Linked DNA regions of Homo sapiens: region 2 is linked to region 1. The links are contacts of gene promoters, found by promoter capture Hi-C in human tissues and cell types (Jung and others, 2019). All regions are on one chromosome and are shown on one strand. Each heading gives the region's core, a stretch centred on a gene start or on the middle of the fragment in contact. The rest is flanking DNA. Distances are from core to core; before and after follow the strand shown. Region 1 holds the start of TMEM51 (transmembrane protein 51). Region 2 overlaps FHAD1 (forkhead associated phosphopeptide binding domain 1).

Region 1 (6,983 bases), core at 1,822-4,321:
AGGGCTGGGTTCCAGTCCCAGTTCTGCTGCTGAACTGTTGTGTGTCCTTGGGTAAGTCCCATCCCCTCTCTGAGTTTTGTTTGTCAAATGAGAATGATGTCTCTGATGACCTGAAGGTCCCCTCCACCTGAGACATTCTAGGACCTTCCTTTTCCCTCCAAGCAAAGGGAGACTTGAAGCATGGAGAAGGATATTCTCACAGCTTTCGCTGCAAGAGGAGGATTCCTCCCAGCTTCAGAGCAGAAACAAAAGTGAAAGCAAAAGTCAGCAGCCCCCATACCACATCCCAAGTCAGAAGACACCTGAGCTTCTGAAACTTTCCCAGCACCGAGGGAGACAATGCTTCTCTTTTGCATGACTCCCACCTTAATTTGGGGCTGGGGGAAGAGAATCCACACTAAAGCTCCTCACACTCTGGCCTCTTCCAGCCCAAGAAGCCTGAGGGGTTTACAGCCAGGCCTGCAGAGGGAGGGAGGAACGTTGACCAGAAACACAACCTATTAAAACGGGAGCCCCAGAAGCTCCAGCTGGCCTCTGCCTCCAGCTTTCCCATCCCTCACGCAGACAGAGAAACTCCCAGGCCTCGTGACATCTGGAGCCAGCGAGCCGGAGAGTCGCAGCTGGAGGGGCTTGGGTCCTGCCAATACCCCAGACACTCACTCACTACTTCTCTCTGGCAGGGGACCAGGCTGGCAGTTTGGGCCTCATGTAGAACCCCAGAATCTTACCCTTGACCAACAGTCATGAGTGAAGGCCACACATTACTCTCTGCTTCCTGTATGGGCCTCTCCTCCAGCTCCCCCATTCATTCCCACTGCCCCCACCAACCCACAGGCCAGCCTCTCTCTCCTAGGAGTCTTCTCTAGGATCCTCGCCAACTTCCAGGCAGCCAGGATTATCTTCTTAACATATGGATGGGATCAGACGACTTCCCTGCTTAGAGAACTTGAATGAAAGGGACGTCTTTCTCCATGTTGTTCATCTTTGTTGAGCACCTAGAACAGCGCCTGGCCCACAGAAGGTGCTCGGCCAACATATGTTGAATGATTCCAAGAAAGCCCCCACCTGTCCAGTCCAGCTCACTCCGGACCTTCCATTCCCTTTACTTTTCCACACCCTCCACTGCCTGAGCACCTTCCCCAGCCCAGCACACCCCAGGCACTCTCCTGTCGCTGTGCCTTTGCCTGTGCTGTTCGATCTGCCCAGACACCCTTCCTCCCCTGTTCCCTGGGGGGACTCCAGTTCCCTGATGAATATTCTAATACTCTTTTCTTAGCAGGACCTCCTGAGTTATTTCCTTTCTTCTGTTCTCGTCTAAGCCCTGTGACATAACTTACTATAGAATACTTCATGTGCTAGGCATAAATACCCCACCTCGCCCTTGGAGATCATCATCCCATTTTACAGATGAAGAAGCTGAGGCTCAGAGAGGTCAGGTCACACAGCCAGCAAGTGGTGTGGCCTGACTGTATCGCCAATTCTGCAACACTTTTCATGAGTATCCCTGACTCCCTCACTAGGCTGGGGGCTCCCTGAGGCTTCTGGGCTCTGGGTCACTGGGGCAGGCCCCAGACACCCCATCAGAGAGCTGTCAGCTCCGAAGCCGTGAGGAGCAGGTTCACCACTAGCCTCCTCTCTCTTTCTTTGGCCTTTTCTCCCAGTCTGGGGGTACCTCTCAATTGGTGGAGTGAGATATTTGGAGGGGCAGGGGCTCTGTCCCAATAGGTCAGGATCCTCTTGTGACAGGTTTCCGGGGTGTGAAAGCTGTTCACGGTCCCAGGGCCAACAGTTCCCTAGACAAGCTGTTCTCCGGGTAACCCATTCAAAAGGAAAGCCAGAAGCCGGCCGGTCCTAGAGGGGAAAGCCTTCCACCCGCTGACTTACCTCCCGGTTCGGGTCCCTGCCCCGCCCACCTCGTCCCCGCCCACCCCACTCCGGCAGCGCCCGGGTTCCCAGCAGCCAGACCTCCCCTGCTGTTGGGAAGGACCCGCAGTCCCATGCACCGTCACAGGCACCTCGGAGCGCTGCGCAGGACACCCCACGGGCTGCTCCCTGGGGAAACCGTGGGGGAGGGGCCAGGTCTCTCGCCCCCACCGCTGGTTGGGAAAGAGACCATTATCCTGTAATGCAGACCAGGCGCGCCGGGCCAAGCGCCTCCCGTTTGTGCGCTGATTTGAGATCTGATTTGTACTCTGCTCTCCCCTAGGCCCGGTAACGTAACTTACCGCTGAGTGCTTGCTGGGTGCTGGGCATGAATGCCCCGCCGCACCCTGGGACGTTGTCATGTCAGTTTCACAGATGAAGAAACCGACGCGCTCAGGGAAGGACTCGAGTTTCAATCCACTTTGCTCATGCCCGATTCTTTACCCCCGTGTTTGCTTGTAGAGCGACACACACACATACACACACACGAATCTAAATCCCTAAAAGGCCCCGACTTCCATACAGTAAGGGATGCGCGAGCAAAGCGCCAAGGTGGTTTCCTGGGACCTACTGGGAAGTTCTGCTCCTAACCACGCGCTGAAAGCGCTTCTGGCGAAGCCAAGGGTTCGAAGCCCGCCGGGCGGATAGCACCTGTTCCCGCCAACAGGGGGCCCCCAAGGCCAGCTGCCTTCCCCAGCCGAGGCCAGCTGGCCAGGCGCGGTGCCCGGGAGGCGGGAGCGTCCCGCGCCGGCGGGGCGCGGCCGCAGAGGGTGCGGGGTGCGGAGTCCTCCCGGTGGTCGACCCCAGGCGGGAAGCGCTCGGCGGACAGACGGACGGACAGGAGACCCAAACGGGCCTCGGCCCCCTTACACGGCCCTGTGGGGAACCGACAGCGCGCCGCGGGAAGCAGCGGGCGCAAGGCGCGGCGGCTGAGACTCACCCGGGAGGCGGCGGGTCCGGCTCCGTCTCGGCTGGGCGGTCCGGGACTGCGGGCTTCGCGACCCCCGCGCCCCACCCGGGCGGCCTCCTCGGTGGGCGCCGCGATCGCGGGGCTGGGGTTCGGGGGATTCTTAGCCGAGGGAACGCAGTGGTGGAGAGGGCGCACTGCCCTCTCAGGGACCGGGTTGGGGACGCAGGAAGCGCGGCCTGGGAGCGCCGGCGTGCGGGAGGGAGGGACCGCGGGAGGCGGAGGGCGGTGCCGGCCAGGAGCGGCCTCCAGCCCGGAGAAGCACCGCCCACCGGCCGACCCTCCCTCCCGGCCCTCGGCACCACCCCCGGGCCCGAGGCGAGGGATCGCAGCTGAGCGAGGCGGGCACCCACTCCCCAGCGTATGCCGCTGGAGCGCGCTGAGCGTGTGCCGGGGGCTGGGCCTAAGTTCTCCCCAACCCTTGCCAGCCGAGTTGGATAAGAGGGGGTCGGGAGAAAATAGAGCCCTGATCCCCCCTCCTCCCTAGGGCCCAGAGAATCGGTGTGCATGCGTGTGTGCGCGCACGCGCGTGTGTGTGACGGGTGGTGGTCGGGGAATGTCTCAAGCTAGAAGTCCCAGGTTTTAGGGGTTTAAGTGGAGCTGGGAGACCCGCTTTCCTCCCACACCAGGCGCAGACGCCGAGGCACAGCTCCGCCAGCCGCCCCGCCTTTACCTGGCGGGATACTCACCTCTCCTCCTTCCTGGGGAGGCCACCGCCTCCCTCTCCCCCTTCTGCCCTGGGCTGGTTCCCAGCGAGGTGAGTGACCGGCACAAGTAGGGAAGGAGGAAGCGAGTTTTTAAAAACTGAGTCAGCTCACGCCCTCGGCCAGGGTCCCCACCCGATGCGTGGTCCCCAGGGCGCCCTCGGGATCGCACGCCCGAGTCCCGGCCCAGGTGGGGCCCATTCCGGGTTCTTGCGCGCGGGCAATGGATGGGGGCGCGCTGCACCGGGAGCCTGCCCTGCTGAGGGCTCATCCCCAGCTTTGCCGAGAACTTTCCCGGCGAGGCACCGGCTGGCGTTTTCCCAGCCTGCGAGTGGCAGGCGGGCAGCCAGTCTCTGCTCGGATCCACGGAGGCCCGGAGCCGCCACGGAGTTCTGGCTCCGGGGAGTGCAAACCCGAAGTCGGCGCGGAAGCCTCTCACCCGCGGCTCTGCCTCCGCCCCTTGGAGATCTGCCCTCGGAACTGCGTTGCTCTGGCGCCCGAACTAGGGTGGGCTGGTTTCAGCCAGACCGCCAAAAAACGTGGATGCTAAACACAGAGGGAAGAGCCAGCTCCCATTCCCTCTCTGAGCCTTAGATTTTTTTGAATTCCGAGAGAGGTCAGGCCGGGGTCCCCTTCTTGGGTGAGCGTCCAGCCCTTTGAAGTTCAAACACTGAGAAGCCGATAGGCAGCTGGCTGGCGTCACAGGATCGAGCCGAGGACTGAAGGCGCCTCCTACCGGGAATCCACCGCCTCCAGACGAAAATAGGCTGCAATCAAGTTCACTTCCAAAGGCGGAATTCATGGGTACATATGGTGTCCACGTGTGTACACCTGCAGAGTTGTAACATGCGGGCATTTCTCCCCTCAGCCCGCCATTCTGGCTTCTTAACTTGCACCCTAACAGCTCGACAGAACCTTGGCGTCCACAAAAAGGCAAGTTTGGGTCTGCCTTATGATTTGGGGGTGGGAAGGCATTTGGGGAAACAGTCTCCATGTCTATGACAGCAACTGCTATTCCTCACATCCTTGCTATGAACCAGGGGCGGGGTTACCACCCACATCCCCTGAACCATCTCATTTAATCCTCATAACCTAGGAGGCGGTTATTTGTTATGCCCACTTTATAGAAGAGAAGGCTGAGGCTTAAGGAGGTGAGGTCATTTTGCCCAGTGAAAACACAGCTGGGAAGTATCAGGATCTAGACCCAAGATGATCCACTCCAGAGCTTCTGCTCTCCCTCCCATAGCATAATTCCTCCTGTCTGCACATACTCTCCACCCTGAGAGAATGTTCACCTTGCCTGGCCACCTGCAAATGCGGAATAAACATTTGTTGGATGAATGAAAGCCCTAAATAATAACCCATGATTTTAGTGAATAGGGAGGACCCTTTGTGTAGGCAGGTACCTATAATAATATGCTCCCATTTAAGAGCTGTGCGTATTCATCCCAAAGTTTAGACAATGCATGTGGGGACCTTCCCAGGCTCCAAAGGAGTGACAGGAAACAGTCACGTAGCTCTCAGATAAGACCAGGAATCTGGTTTTCATTTGACTCTGCAAGATGGACTTTGGAGAGGCCTGGGGTGGGGGCGGGGGGTGATCATGTCAGAACAGCTGTCCCAGCTCCTAATCTGAAGACAAAGAGCTGCTGTACTTTTCCATGCCAGGGTCATCCCAGACCCGCCCCACTCTGCTGCAGACTCAACTGGGCAGGTCTTGTTTATCACAGGATATCATCTTCAGAGTGTTCCATTTAAGCAGGCTCACCCTGGCTGATCTGGGGAGAGACTGACGAAATTCTCAGGCAAAGCTGAGGCCCAGGCAAAACTGAAGAAGCTACCAAAGGAAGCATGCCTCTCCTTATCCTCCTCTCCTCCACAGCCCTCTCCCTCTACATGGTTAGTTTCTCTGAATCTTCCCTACCATTTATTGAACCCTGTGTTTCACGTGCACTGCATACATTGTGTTCTTTGGTTTTCAAAACAGCCCTAGAAGGAAGATTCTATTATTCTAGTTTTTCAGATGAGGCTGTTAAGACTCAGAGAAGTTAGGTACCTGGATCTGCTAGCAAGTGACAAAGTATTTGAATCTGGGGTCTTTGCAGGGCCCTTGCTCTAAATCACTAAGCTAGGAACCCCCTTCTGTGATAGGCAGAATAATGGCTGCCCAAAGATGTTCACAACCTGATCCCCAGAACTGGTTACTTTACGTGGCAAAAGGGACTTTGCAGATGGGATCAAGTTAAAGATGTTGGGACGGGGAGGTTATCCTTGATTTTCCTGGTGGGTCCAATGTTGTCAAAAGGGTTCCTACAAGAGGGAAGCGGGAGGGTCAGAGTTAGAGAGGGAGATGTGGTGATAGAAGTAGAGATCAGAATGATACAGTTGCTGGACAAGGGTCAGTAGCCAAGGAATGTGGGCAGCCTCTAGGAGCTAGAAAAGGAAAGGAATGGAGTGTCAGCCAGAGCATCCAGAAGGAGCTCTTGGCATCCACAAAAAGGCAAGTTTGGGTCTGCCTTATGATTTGAAGGTGGGAAGGCATTTGCAGATCCGTTTTGGACATCTGACCTCCAGAACTGTAAGAAGATAGTTCACTGTGTTGTTCTAAGCCATGAAGTTTGGGTCAATTTGTCACAGCAGCGGGAGGAAACTAATACATCCTGCAAACTCAGTCACCTAGGCAGATGTTCACTTCACCTGCTTTTTTGGCTAACTGTCCACTGTAAACTTCTGAAGAGGCACCATGATCTAGCCTACATCACGGATTTAGAAAGAAGGCAGGATTCCATCACCTTTGTCTTTGGTTTCTGAATCCTCTGCTATTTGTGAGTTGTGTGACCCTGGGCAGATGTCTTGTCCTCTCTGAGCCTCAGTTTCCTCATGTGTCAAAAAAAAATTATTAGCATTTCTATGCTAATAATACCTATTTTCCAGGACCAACTCGGGGATCAGGTGAACTAGTATGTGACAAAGTACCCAGTGTGGCCTGAACATGAGTTGTGGGAGCATTAGCCTGTCTAGTTCTGAAAGCCTGAATTCAAAGAGGAGAGGATGCTGTTCTGAGAATTCCCGTGGCATTACATTTTTATTCTTTCTGGCTGAATGGGTAAATAACGACAGTTTTAAAATATTCGACTGTCCCTGGTTAGTGACCAAGACCCCAGTCTGTCATGCTACTGACTTTCCAGGCACATCAATGAAAGTGAGGCTGGAAAATCAGCTTATAGAAATAGATCATCATGCAGAACAACTCACACATGTGCTCAGGAACAGAACGTCCAAGGGTTTTCATTGCTGATTAATTGTAACGGTGAAAAGTGGTCACCAACCTCAATGCCCAGCACTAGGAGCTATGCTAAGTAAATTGTGGCATAGACTCATGCTGGCAC
Region 2 (6,983 bases), core at 2,303-4,802, 160 kb before region 1:
TACCTTGACTCACCGAAACAGACACATCTCACAAATACTGAGAAATCCTATAGGTTCAGGATTCTAAAGTCAGAGCATTGAGGTACATTTTGCAAATAGTTATTATTATTATTATTATTATTATTATTATTATTATTATTTGAGACGGAGTTTCACTCTTGTTGCCCAGGCTGGAGTGCAATGGCGCGATCTCAGCTCACTGCAATTTCTGCCTCCCAGGTTCAAGCTATTCTCCTGCCTCAGCCTCCTGAGTAGCTGGGATTACAGGCGCCTGGCTAATTTTTGTTATTTTTAGCAGAGACAGATTTTCACCATGTTGGCCAGGCTGGCCTCAAACTCCTGATCTCGTGTGATCCACCAGCCTCGGCCTCCCAAAAGTGCTGGGATTACAGGCATTAGCCACCGTGCCTGGCCTCAAAATTACTTTTAAACAGCTCTTGACTTGCCTACCAGGTTCACTCCACACAGAATATTCTTACCCACACTAAAGTCTAAGGGAAGAAATGAAAGTCTGTCTAACTGCACTTGGGCCTGCAAACATTCTGCTTCGAAGGTGACTGTGCAAACCAGTGGTTACTGGGATGAGGGGAAGCCCACCGTGTCCTCTTTTGCATGCAGTGATTCTATTCTGCTTTAATATTAAGCCTTGCCATGGAAATAGCCAAGCTGAGAGGTGCATTTACTGCTGGAATTAACCAAACTCATTTATAATGGGCATTAGAAAATGTTTCCTGGAGTTGAAGCTACATCTTGCTTATTCTGGGGCACGTGCACGCCGATCTTTGAAAAGGTGCAAAGAATGTGGCCAGCTGTTTTAGTTTTTCTAGGTAGGCATTTCATGTTTTGCCCCCAACGCCCACCCCCCCACCACCCCGCCCCCAGCACAATGGTGTGAGAGGAAGGAATGAAATTTAAACTAAGGGCCCAGGGTGAATGAAACAAGCATATCACGTGACTTCACTTTAGCTGCTTTTCACCGGATGGCTACAAGGTGACGCAGTCATCCTTACTCACTCTAGAGCCAAGGGCTTCCAGCTGGTGGTCCTTGTCCTTGTTCTGACTTTTTAGGTGACTGACCTCTTCCTTTAGTTGTTGAACTTGCTCATCCTTTGCTAATATGTCTTTTTGCAAAGATGACACCATCCCTGTAAAAAAGAAGACTCGCAGAGGTCAAAGAGGCAGTGAGGATGACTGTCATCGCTGCCGCTGTCAACCAGTTTGTGACGAGCCTGGCACTGAGAAGGGAGGTGTCTCCAAGGATCCCAGGAGCTTGAATGGGGTTGAGACCAATATCCACTGCACATCATTTGTTCAAGGTCCCAGTGAGAAGGAGAGGTCAGTCAGTGCGTGTTGCTGGAGACAGGAAACATCTGTCGGGGTGCTGTGGGCATCGGCCCTGCCTGGGAACAAAGGCTCAGCAGAGAGAGGGACCAGGAGGGGCCACGACATGGGCCTGTGGCAGCAAGGGACGTGTTGATTCACACTCATCTGAGTTTGGAAACCGTCTCTAGCACTTACTAGCTCAGTCGTCTTTTTTCTTGAGACAGGGTCTTACTCTGTCACCCAGGCTGGAGTACAGTGGCACGATCATGGTTCACTACAGCCTCGACCTCCTGGACTCAGGCGATCCTCCTGCCTTGGCCTCCCAAGTAGCTAGGACTACAGGTACGTGCCACTATGCCTGGCTAATTTTTGTATTTTTTGTAGACATGGAGTTTTGCCCATGTTGCCCAGGCGGGTCTCAAACTCCCAGGCTGAAGCAATCCACCAGCCTCTGTCTCCCAAAGTGCTGGGATTACAGATGTGAGCCACAATGCCCAGCCTAGCTTAGTGGTCTGAAGAAGTTATTTAACCTCTCATTGTATCTACAGAGTTGTATAAAGAACATAGTAGAGTGGCTAACACATAGTGTTTATTCCCTGCCACCCACAAGTATATGTGGTAGCCAGCTTGCAAAATGGCCCCCATGATCCCTGCCTGTTAGAATACCTGGCCTCGTGTAGCCCCCTCCCACCTGAATAGGGCTGACGTGTGTAACTCATATGGCACTGTGGAAGTGGTGAATGTGACTTCCCAGGGTGAATCATCAAAGATGTTGTGGTTTCTTCTTTGCTCTCCTTGGATCACTCAGTCTGGGGAAAGCCAACCGCCATGTTGTGAGGACACTCAAGCAGCCCTAGGGAAGGACACACATGGTGAGGAACTGAGGCCTCCAGCCAACAGCCATGTGAGCGAGTCATTCCAGAAGGGGATCCTCGAGCCCTAGTCGGGCTTTAGATGACATGACAGCAGTAGCTCCTGCAACCTCGTGAGAGACCCTGAGCCAGACTAAGTCACTCCCAAGTTCCTGAACCACAGAAACCGGGTAAGATAAACATATTTGTTGCTTTTTTGGGATAACTTATGTGACAGCAGATAGTCAATATATTATTGTATTATCACATTGAGAAAAAGTGAGAAGAAGGGTGCATAATGCAGTGGTATTGGGTTATCTCATACGGTCCTTTTCTTAGAAAAACATTCATCCTAGTTTTATTGGTGGGTATCAATCAAGAATCAATCTTTATTGCACAATCAAGGATGTGTAATAAAGAACAACATGATTCAGAATTTCATTGTAAAAATGAGCTTCGTCCGGGGACACAGTTAAGTTCCTTAGAAACAGACTGCTCTCTCTGGGGCTTGCCTGCATGCTTTGTGAGGCGGGACCAGAGTGACCTTTTCTCTAGAATGAATTTGGCTTGAGTCTCTACCAGGTGCCCTGTGTAGTGCAAGGTTGCCCCATTCTGGATGGTGGGAAAGTGAGCTACTCTCAGGCCTACGTGGGCTTCGAGATGGTTCCCTCTGCTCCTCCTGGGTGGTTCCTTCCCTGCCCACATGCACGTGCTCATCACACCTGACTCTGCTGAAGACTTGAGGCGGACCCTCTGAGATCTCCGGGGTGCTCTCCGTGCAGCCCCCTCCCGCCTGGCACGCCACCCAGCAAACTCAAGCTGTGCTGGCTTCTCCACCTCCATCTCCTCAAGTCGGGCTGACCACTGGGCTCTGTCTGGCTTCCCCTCCCTGCTGTGGTCTGGAAACTCTCTCCAGCGCAAGCCAGCCGGGGGCAATCGTAGATTTCATCTTGTTTGTTTCCACTCCCTCCCAGATCATCGTCACATGCTTCTTGGGGCCAATAGATGGAAACCATTATTTCAGACATTTTTTTCTGTTTGTTTGGTTTTTGTTTGTTTGTTTGAGTTGTTTCAGGCAGGTGAGGAAATCCGCACCTTGTTCCTCCATCTGCCTCTCTTCCTGTGGAAGATGGGGTTTGTGATGTGTTGTGATGGCTTCTGTGAGCCTGGGTCACTGTGTGGCCACAATGACCAAAGCCCCTACTGACCCATGATGGGCTCAGGGTGGAAGCAGGAGCTGAACCTGTCTATTGTGAGCCACTGAGACTTGGGGGACTGTTTGTCACTGCAGCGTAACCCGGCCCAGTGCTTCTCGAGCTTAAGTGTGCACAAGCAGCAGCCGGGAGGCTTGTGAAAATGAAGATTCTGATCGGAAGGTCAGGAGTGGGGCCTGAAATTCCCAGTTTCTCACAAGGATCCAGGTGATGCTGATGCTGCTGGTCCAGGGACCACACTTGGGGCCGTGAGAGTGTAGCCCATCCCAGGCCATACCTGAGCCCAGGTCTGTCTGACTCCTTGATTAGAGGAGTGGTGTCTGAGACAGGCTTGTAGCGTGGATGGGGTGTGATGGACAGACGCTGGGGAGGAGGGCAGGGCCCAGCGAGATCCCCCTGGGATGCCTGGTGCCCAGAGCAGCCCTGCCCATAGGGCTCACAAGTATCCAAGAACATTCCATGTTAGGGAAGAACAGAGGTAGAAGCCTGGAGTGGGGAGGGGGACTGCAGAGTGAGGCAGAGGGAAAGCCACGGCCAGGCGGCCTGGGTCCTGCGGAGACAGCGATTGTGTCTGACTCAATGCTACGCTCTGCTTTCACAGCCACGGGCATGTTTCCTGCTGTGCAGGGGGGACTTTAGGAGCAATATGCCCAATCTGGACTCATTCCCTCTCCACCACCTGCTTTTCTCTCTTCCCCCTTTCTCTGTCCATGGCCCTATCATCTGCAGGTCTCGAGACATGCCATTCTCTGCCTTAAAAACCCTAACGTGTCCCATCACACTTAGAAGAAAACCTGAACCCCTCCCATGTAATGTGGCCCTGCCTCCCCCCTGACCCCACCAGGTCCCATAGCCCCTTGTTCCCTGACTCCAGCCACACTCGCCGGCAGTTGATCCAACACCGTGGCTTGGTCCAGCCTCGGGGCCTTTGCACCTGTGCTCTCTGCCCAGCATACCGTTCCCAGGGGCCTCCCGACAGCCCCTCCCACCTCCTCAGAGATATCCCTGCCCAGGCACTAAGCCAGGGATGTCCAATCTTTTGGCTTCCCTGAGCCACACTGGAAGAAGAAGAAGGGTCTTGGGCCACGCATAAAATACACTCACGCTAATAATAACTGATGAGCTAAAAAAAAAAATCGCTAAAAAAAAAAAATCTCATAATGTTTTAGGAAAGTTGAGGAATTTGTGTCGAGCCTCATTCAAAGCTGTCCTGGGCCATATGTGGCCCGCAGGTCGTGGGCTGGACAAGCTTGCACTAAGCTATTCTCCTTCACTTCACCCCCTGAGTGCTTCCCCACCACGGTGTCCAGCTTTATTTCCTCTGGAGCACTGATCTCTCTCTGGTATGGGCTTGTTCATTTATCTTTTTACTTCTTATTGTCTGTCATCCTCTCCCAAGTGTGAGCCCCATGAGCAGAGGGGCAGAGGGATCTTGACTGCTCAGGGCTCTCTCTCCCCAGTGCCTAGAACAGTGCCTGGCATCTAGCAGCTGCTCCATAAATGTGCTGAATGAATGAATGAATGAATGAATCCAGGCTAAGAAACAGCTGTGCCTGGCAAGGGTGGGCCATGAGTTGGCTGCCCCCTTGCCCACCCAAGTTCTTGAGTATCCAGCTACCTCTCAATTAGCAAAATGCTTTCGCTCCGGCCCAAGAGCACCAGTGTGAGATGGGTAAGAGGCTGGGTGCCTTAAACTGGCAACCCCATTTTAGCCACATTCTAGTTTGCATTCACAGCAAACTGGCTCATGGGACTGCCTGAGCTGCAGCTTGTCCTGTGTGTTCCCTGGTGAGGTCCATGCTCAGCAGGCCTTTTAGCTAACAGATAACATTTGCTCAAATATTTATCAAGGGCTCACTCCAAACCAGGCCCTATGCTAGGAACTGGATGGCACATAAACCTCTGAGGGTGAACTCAGATTCATGGACAGGAACTGCCTAAAGGGCTGCTGGGAAGAACTCTGAGGCTGCAGCCAAGTTCAGTAACAAAAAGTATGTGGTTGATTGGTGATGTCTGCTGTGGCCAAGAACAACGGGTGCGGGAGTGGCAGCTCCCAGGCCCGACTCCAAGGGCTCACCTGATGTGATAGCGTTGTCTCTCTTTAAGTTCTCGCCCTCATTCTTCAGGGATGTGATTTCTGAGTTCCGCTCTGACAGGGTCTGGCACAGCACCTTGCTGTAGCCTTTCTGTAGGGCACTGATCTGTGGGAGGAGGTGGCACAGTCAGAGGGGGGCTGGCCCACGTCTGGGAGACACACAGGTACTTCTCACAAGCTTGACAGAAAGATTCAGATTGAGTTTTGGCTGGGGTGTTGGGGAAACCAAGCTTTTTAGTTTTAACCAGTGGAAGGGACAGGGGAGGGCCTGTTCCTTCAAGGACCACCACTTCCTATGTCATCAAAACATGAACCTTATCTTTGTGCCCATAAAGGGGCCCAGGCCTGGCTGCCACTGGGGACACCTGGTTTCTTAATGTGCCTTCTGATGACCTTTGGACTCTCAGCCATAAACAGATCACCTGTTGGTTCCAGGTCGCCCAGTACTGACTGGATACAGAGCAAAGTTCAAGAGAGGGAAGCATGTTATAAAATTAATTCCCTCAAATGATAACAATAGGTTATATCTCACAGAACACTCTAGAACCTACAAAGCCCACTCACAGACACTACTCCTTCAACAGAGCCTCATGGCCTCTCCACAGAAGGCTCCTGGGAATGCTCCCGTATTAGTCTGTTTTCACGCTGTGATAAAGACATACCCGAGACTGGGAAGAAAAAGAGGTTTAGGCCGGGCGCAGTGGCTCACGCCTGTAATCCCAGCACTTTGGGAGGCTGAGGCGGGTGGATCATGAGGTCAGGAGATCAAGACCATCTTGGCTAACACGGTGAAACCCTGTCTCTACTAAAAATACAAAAAATTAGCTGGGTGTGGTGGCGGGCACCTGTAGTCCCAGCTACTCGGGAGGCTGAGGCAGGAGAATGGTGTGAACCCGGGAGGCAGAGCTTGCAGTGAGCCGAGATCGTGCCACTGCACTACAACCTGGGTGACAGAGTGAGACTCCGTCTCCAAAAAAAAAAAAAGAGAAAGAGGTTTAATTGGAATTACAGTTTCACTGGCTGGGGAGGCCTCAGAATCATGGCAGCGGCAAGAGAAAATGACGAAAAAGCAAAAGTGGAAACCCCTGATAAACCCATCAGATCTTGTGAGACTTATTCCCTGTAACTAGAACAGCATGAGAAAGACCAGCCCCCATGATTCAATTACCTCTCCCTGTGTCCCTCTCACAATGTGTGGGAACTCTGGGAGATACAATTCAAGTTGAGATTTGGTGGAGACACAGCCAAACCATATCATTCTGCCCCTGGCCCCTCCAAATCTCATGTCCTCACATTTCAAAACCAACCATGCCTTCCCAATAGTCCCCCAAAGTCTTAACTCATTTCAGCATTAACCCAAAAGTCAAAGTCTCATCTGAGACAAGGCAAGTCCTTCCCGCCTATGAGCCTGTAAAATCAAAAGCAAGCTAGTTACTTCCTAGGTACAATGGGGGTACAGGTATTGGGTAAATACAGCCATTCCAAATGGGAGAAATTGGC

The links. Contacts are between HindIII fragments. The study calls those that stand out against the background at their distance.
Region 2: a contact is called between a fragment that was not itself captured here and the fragment with the promoter of TMEM51 in region 1, in 1 of the 25 tissues and cell types used here (adrenal gland).

The regions. Positions count from the first base shown.
Region 1 is chr1:15,149,835-15,156,817 of GRCh38, reverse strand. TMEM51 (transmembrane protein 51) reads right to left here and starts at 3,071. Exons shown (of 4, transcript NM_001136218.2): 1 at 2,864-3,071. It overlaps TMEM51-AS1 (TMEM51 antisense RNA 1), which reads left to right and starts at 4,354. Exons shown (of 5, transcript NR_027136.1): 1 at 4,354-4,527. RefSeq lists enhancers at 1,566-2,227, 2,359-2,448, 2,228-2,889 and silencers at 2,599-2,778, 2,869-2,918, 2,979-3,248. The HindIII fragment of the contact is 16,508 bases long and covers 1-6,983 here.
Region 2 is chr1:15,307,219-15,314,201 of GRCh38, reverse strand. It overlaps FHAD1 (forkhead associated phosphopeptide binding domain 1), which reads right to left. Exons shown (of 34, transcript NM_001391957.1): 7 at 5,466-5,589; 8 at 1,015-1,145. Among named protein-coding and RNA genes, the nearest start is that of FHAD1-AS1, 33 kb to the left of the region's middle. The HindIII fragment of the contact is 6,121 bases long and covers 492-6,612 here.